Linked DNA regions of Homo sapiens: region 1 is linked to region 2. The links are contacts of gene promoters, found by promoter capture Hi-C in blood cells and fetal thymus (Javierre and others, 2016). All regions are on one chromosome and are shown on one strand. The core of a region is centred on a gene start or on the middle of the fragment in contact, and the rest is flanking DNA. Distances in the headings are between cores, read along the strand shown. Region 1 has its middle 62 kb from the start of LINC01621. Region 2 holds the start of SH3BGRL2 (SH3 domain binding glutamate rich protein like 2).

The links. The method cuts DNA at HindIII sites, captures the fragments that hold promoters and counts their contacts. A CHiCAGO score of 5 or more calls a contact.
Region 1: a contact is called between a fragment that was not itself captured here and the fragment with the promoter of SH3BGRL2 in region 2, in 1 of 17 cell types (M1 macrophages). The highest score is 5.2, in M1 macrophages.

Annotation. Positions count from the first base shown.
Region 1 is chr6:79,872,499-79,875,630 of GRCh38, reverse strand. No RefSeq gene overlaps it. Among named protein-coding and RNA genes, the nearest start is that of LINC01621, 62 kb to the right of the region's middle. The HindIII fragment of the contact is 270 bases long and covers 1,706-1,975 here.
Region 2 is chr6:79,629,619-79,632,778 of GRCh38, reverse strand. It overlaps SH3BGRL2 (SH3 domain binding glutamate rich protein like 2), which reads right to left and starts at 1,450. Exons shown (of 4, transcript NM_031469.4): 1 at 1,273-1,450. The coding sequence starts at 1,317. The HindIII fragment of the contact is 2,885 bases long and covers 1-1,751 here.

The DNA of each region.
Region 1 (3,132 bases), core at 591-3,090, 240 kb before region 2:
GTTAGATCTCTGGTTTCCTCCTATTATGGAGCTTATTTTAAGTTTAAATTCCAACAATGTGTGTATGTGTGGGGTACGGGTGGGAGGTCTTCCTTCTACACAGGCTGTATCATCCACATCTCGGGCATGAGGGCTTTGGACCCTGTAGTCATGCTGCTCTTCTTAAAGCATAGCTAAAAGAAGTGATATTTACGGAAGATAAGTCTCATTCCACTTGATCTCCCAGAATCATTTTATATCATTGACACCCAACTTCTCCTTTCTTTCCGATCCTTTTGCAAAACACTCATTTCTTCTTCAGTCTCTGACTCTGTTTTCTCTAGCTCCTGCCAGCCATCAAATAAGTTGTACCTCTTTGTTTTGTCCTTGGTCCTCTTCTTTTTCTCCATGCACCTTTAATTGTGGATCTTCCCAATTCCAGGGGTTCAGCTATCATTTCATTCATTTAACTGGTGTTTTATTCCACTTCGGTTATATGGCTTGGAATCTACTTTGATTTGTTAGACTTGCAGTTAATTAATTTGTTCATTGATTAATTCATTTGTCAAACTTTTAAGACCTTCTACTACGCACCAGACACCAGGTTGAACACAGAAGATACGGAGCTGAATAAGAAATGATTCTTCTCTCAAAAATTTCACAATAATATGCTAATGTTTCCTGTTTCACAAGCTCTGAACTCTTTCCTAAGATCTAGATAAATGAAATTGCCAACTGGATGGTTTGTTTGCTCTTCAAACTAGCATGTCAGAAAAGAGTCTGGCTTTACCCCTCAGCCACCCCTACTCACATTTGTTTTTCACCATTTCTATTAGTGTCCTCAGCACCCCAGCACCAAATTATCTTCCTCCTTTTCTCGTCTTCCCAGCCTTGATTCCTCATCTTTCTCTACACATACCTCACACTTTAGTCAATAGCTCTGTCCTGAGCACACCCAAACTCTTCCCAGTCTTCCAGTATCAAGACTACTTTTAAGATCTGCTTCCTTGCAATGAGTTTCGTGTAAATTAGAATGCACATTGTGACAATATTAACTTTTATTGTCAACTTCTGTTCCTACCGTAAATGCATTTTGTAATGAATCTTCTCTCTATGGCTGTCCATGGAGGATATATTATCATTTTGTTTTACATGTGAAGAAATCAAGTGACTTGCCCATGATTATACTACTGGCAAGGGTCAGGGTCAGAAAAACAGTTTGCCAGTTTCCCAAGTATGAATCCTTTTCAGTGCTTGACGATCGTGAAGCAAGTTCTTAGCTTCTCTCAGCAGCATTTCCCAAAGGGTGTTCCTTGAGATGCTACTTGATGCTATTCAACAAACAAAGAATCCTACAGACAAATGAATTTGGGAAATGATAAGAAATTAAAACCGGCTTCTTTTCTGCTAGTATTCTCTGAATTTTTAACATGCTAATGAAGTGCATTGTGAATATATAATGCATAATATTTTATATAGCACTTTCTGAAGATGACCTAATTACCACAGAACCATTACTTCACAGCCTCTCTCAGACTTGTTTTATTCAGAATAAATCAGAGAAAATGTCTTTTAAAGAAAGGGAGCTTGGGGGTCACAGCACTAGTTCATATTCTCTTAATTTCACTTGACATGAGAAATCTTCACCTTAATATTTCCTGGTTGACCATTCAACAAGCTTGTTATGAATTCAATTACACATCAGTTTCAACCTTTGTCAAAAGCTTTTCTTAGGAGGCTCAAGGAGGTGCCTCACCTTCTGGCAGAGAACTAGTGAGTCTGTGTTTACATTCTCAGGAAAATCATATTATTAATTAATAAGAACTTCTACTTTTTTAACACTGCTAAATTCAAGACACTGGAGCACTTATCTCACTTAATCCTCAAAACTATTCTGGGGAGTAGGTACTAATGTGACCTCTATTTCACAAATGGGAAAGCAAAGGCTCAGTAGTACATGCAAGTAAGCCTATGACCACCATAATAGTGATAAGCTTAAGGCTCATCACCAAGTCTCTCTGATCAGAGCCCGTGCTTTTAGCCTTATATTCTTATATCCTGACTCATTATCAACATATTTAAAAATAGGTGAATGTGATTGAATGATAGAAAAAGAATGTACCAGGAGACAGCCATGTCTGTATCCACCTCATGATATTTATAGCTCCTAGCACAGTGCTTAGCATGTAGGAGGTGTTTAAGAAATCTCTGTTGAACAGAAATTAAGTTGAATGACAGTATGGAGCCTTATAAGGGAGGTATATAGAAACAAGAGAACACACTTTGAAAAAGAGCATCAATTAAACAACATAGTATCTTCATTGTGAACATGTGAAGAAAAATCACATCACTCTTTGGAATGACTGGAATGATTCTGAGAGCTACTTGTTTCACCAGGGTCATAGTTTCCCTGTTGGCTTATTGAGCTAGAGAACAAGATGCTGCAGCTAAGCTGTCATCATCGCCTCTCTTTGTTGTTGCTCTTTTATTACATGTTTCAGTTGCAGCAGCAGGGATGAATCAGGCATACTTACACAATCTTGAGTTTCCTGAAGGAGAATTGCCTGTTAGTCGTATATCAACTACTCACCTGCCCAACCAGTGAAGATTTAACCTTAGATATTGGAGCATGTGCACATGTCAGAAATGTAGACAGAGGATAAGTAAAGAAATAAAAAGAACATGTAAAATCATCTTCTAAGTAACTTATTCAGCTACAACCGAGAAAAATTACAAATGTTATGATCGTGTCTGCAAAAGGAAGTGGATAGGTGTATTTAGATGAGTTTCTTACACTGAGATAAGTAAGATAAGTTAAAGATAATGAAATTTATATGCTGGGGTGATGACTAAAGAAGGAAATCTTAATTACCCAAAAGAGTATGGATGGTATAAATCAACAAGGAGGGATAGAATTGGAAGGCCTAAGAGTTAAATAATTAGGAAAAACAACATATGATAAGAGAGAAAGGAGGAAATATCTAGTCAAACAACTTGAAACCGTCCTTGTTTGGTCTTAATATTAATCCTATTCAGTTGACTCTCTGATTCAGCAAGATGGGGCTCAAAGTTGAAGAGGTAACACAGCCTCTCTACCTCCTTTCAGTGTTCTGGATTTCTCATGAGTCAGTTGATGATACTCAGAGTGTGGTG
Region 2 (3,160 bases), core at 201-2,700:
CATGACTAAGCAACCCAAATAGCTAGAAACACCAGAAACTGTCAGAAGTCTGAGGACCCCAACATGACTGCACATAAGTGTAAGTTGGATTTTCCCATCTATTGTTTCTAGTGCAAATGGGGGTGGAGGGGCTTTGTATGATCGTGTTGGTTTCTTTTTAAATAAAAAACTTCAGTGGTGTACAAGGATTTTCAAACAATATTTTATTCCATCCTCCACTCCACCCACTTAAGAAACAAATTTTGGAACAATCTGACTGAGCTACTGGGCAGACAATTGACCAGACCAAATTTAAGCAATCTACAATGCACTTTTTGATGTTACTTGATTATATATGTCACAAAGGAGGCTCTTAAATCTATAGCTGAACTCTTGGTTAAGGAAACCAAGTCTCAATAATCATGTAAAACACATGTGCTATGTCCCTTAGTGGGCTGTCAAATATACTAACTACTGAATTTTCCTTAAATTCTGACATCTCTAGCTATTTAACTTTCCTTTCTTTAAAAAAATTTTTTTTCTCTAAAAAAATTCAAGAACATCCACCAAAGAGAATAGCTAAAAATAATTAAATAGAAAACCACAATTCATAGATCCCCAGGATAAAATTTCCACAGCATTACAGGTGGAAAGAAAATGCGTGCATACACACACATTTACATAAAGATGTAAAAATATTTATGGCACCCTAAGAAAAAAAATGACAGTGAAAGCAAACAATCCTACCACAACAGGACAAACCTAGTTTTACTATTCTCTTTGCGCAGGTATAAAACTAAACAAATGCACTTGCTGGCGGGGAAGGGAGGACAGAGAGCAATTCCCACTTAAACTTGCTTCATTCAGGAGCTAGGGTAACAAACCAAAGCAGCAGAAAAGGCTCCCGTGCAAAACATAACCAGTCTGAAGGTCCCAAATCGGGAAGAACTAAACTAGGGGAAGGGGGATCCCCGAAGCTCTTGAACAACCCGTTCCCCAAATTTCCATGCCACACAACAGGAGCTGGGGGCTTCCCTCGGACTCCATTTTCAGGCCGCGTTGTCTGCCTTTCAGGCCACGCAGGGTGGGCATTTGGGTGAGGCCGGGGTCCCCCACCCACCTTTCCTCCCCGCCCTCTTCATTGTTGTCGGAGTGTGATGGATCACCTGCCGGGCGCGGGCTCCCGCGGGCGGACCGGCTGAGCGCAAGGACGCGCAGTGACGAGCGCCGCGCGCCTCCCGCAGGACCCGCGCCCCGCGACCCCAACCTACTGCCCGCCCCCACCGCGCTCACCGCCACGAAGCCCGAGGAAGAGGCGATGAACACGCGGATGACCATCCTCTCGCTGCGCCCGGGACAGACCCCTTGCCCCCCGGGCTCCGGGCTGGCGTGGACGCAGAGCTGAACCCAGCTACGAGCCGCCGGCAGCCTCTGGGTAAAGCGCTGCCGTCGGGGAAGATCGCTGGGATCTGGCTCCCTCCCGGCGGGTCCGCAGATAAAAGCCCAGCGCCGCCCGGCCGCAGGCTGAAGGGGAAGGAGAGGGAGGAGGAGGGAGCCGGCTGCGGGGCTTGATGGGATTTGTAGTTTCCGTCTCTCCCTGGAGTGGCTGGTGGACTGAGCTCCCCTCCTGACCGCGCTTCTATCCCGAACACGCGCAGGTGGCTGGAGGGGAGCCACAGCCCGGGCAGAAGCTGTGAGGTGGGTTGGCAAGGATCCTGGCTTGATGAGGAAAAAGCAAACTAGGCAAAAGGGCTCGGTTCAAAGTCCAAGCTTGGGTTCTGTATTGTGGTTTATTGGTTTGGAGCATCCACACCCAGAAATGCCAACAGACACGATCGTGCTGCGGGCACACATCGTCTCAGGGCCGCTGGCGTACCGGGCAAACCCCAGCTACCTGAAGCAGGCGGGATCGGCGAGCCGGGTGCTTGGGAGGTGTGGGCGGTGGGGTTGGGCTCGTTTGTTTGTCCAGTAGCACTGGAGATTGCAGAAAGGTGATTCTTTTGGGTAAATGAGAGGTCTTCTCTTGTCTGTACACACTGAAAATTAGAAACCCAGATGGAAGCACAACCAATATTTTATTTTTCTCAGCAAAACTGTAATTGTAGTAGAAAAAAATAAATACCAAACGAAATTGGAATCCTTCTATCAACATTGGAAATCAGGACCCTACCTGCCCCACCCCTCCCTACACAATGGCTTCGCCTCTGTGCACCTAATATTTACAGTTCAGCCAAATCTGTGCCTTTTTCAGAACCGCTGCACATTCCAGCGCAGTTTCCCAGGAGGATGCTGTTAAATAAAAAGCTTCTATATAGTTGCTAATAGTTTAGGAATAGTTTTTTATCAAGTGCTTTCTGTTTGACAAAAGCTCAAGCCTCTCTCTCAGTTTTGTCGAAAGGAACCAGTTTTCCCTGCTGTACTGTATTTACTTTTTTCCTTTCAACACGGGAGTTTAGCAGAGGTCTGGGAACAATGTTAATTAAGAAAAAGTAAGAAATTAGATGATGAGGTCTCTGGCTCTTTGATACATTTCTTGCACAAAGAGCAATCATTATGAAGTATTTTTTAGAACAGTTATGAATATTTCAAATTTATAACCTTTCCTATTGCTTTTCTTAAAGCCATTTCTGTAGTAGGAATCTTTTTAAATTTCCTTCAATAATAGAAGAGACACTCCTAATGGGACTTTATTTCTTCTTCGTGTTTAAAATTTTAAATAGAAGTTTTGCTGTCTTTAGTATCTCTCGGCAAATGTACTTTAATTTTGCTACCATAAATGTGGAAATGCACGTTTATAAAATAGAAAATAATTTTCTTAAAAGTAGATACCGTATTTCCTATATAAATGCAAATCTTTATAAAAGTCAGCATTTTCTTCAGTTTGGAATTATTCAGCTATGAAGATATAGTTAAACTCAAATAATTGGAACTCAGAGCCTACTCTGTGAAAGGTACAAGAATGGATAAAAAGTTGAACGAGTCATTTCTCTGTCAGCAGAGCACCTATTGTCTAGGAAAGAAAAAGACAGATACAGAAATAGTGACAGAACAAGACACACTGTACTAATACAGTGTTGTGTGGATGTAAAGGAAAAAGGTGGCCATAGAAGGTACTTTAAAGATGAGTAGAATTTCTGTCTGCAGATAGGGAGGATGCAGGGTGAGACTATTCAGGGTGTGT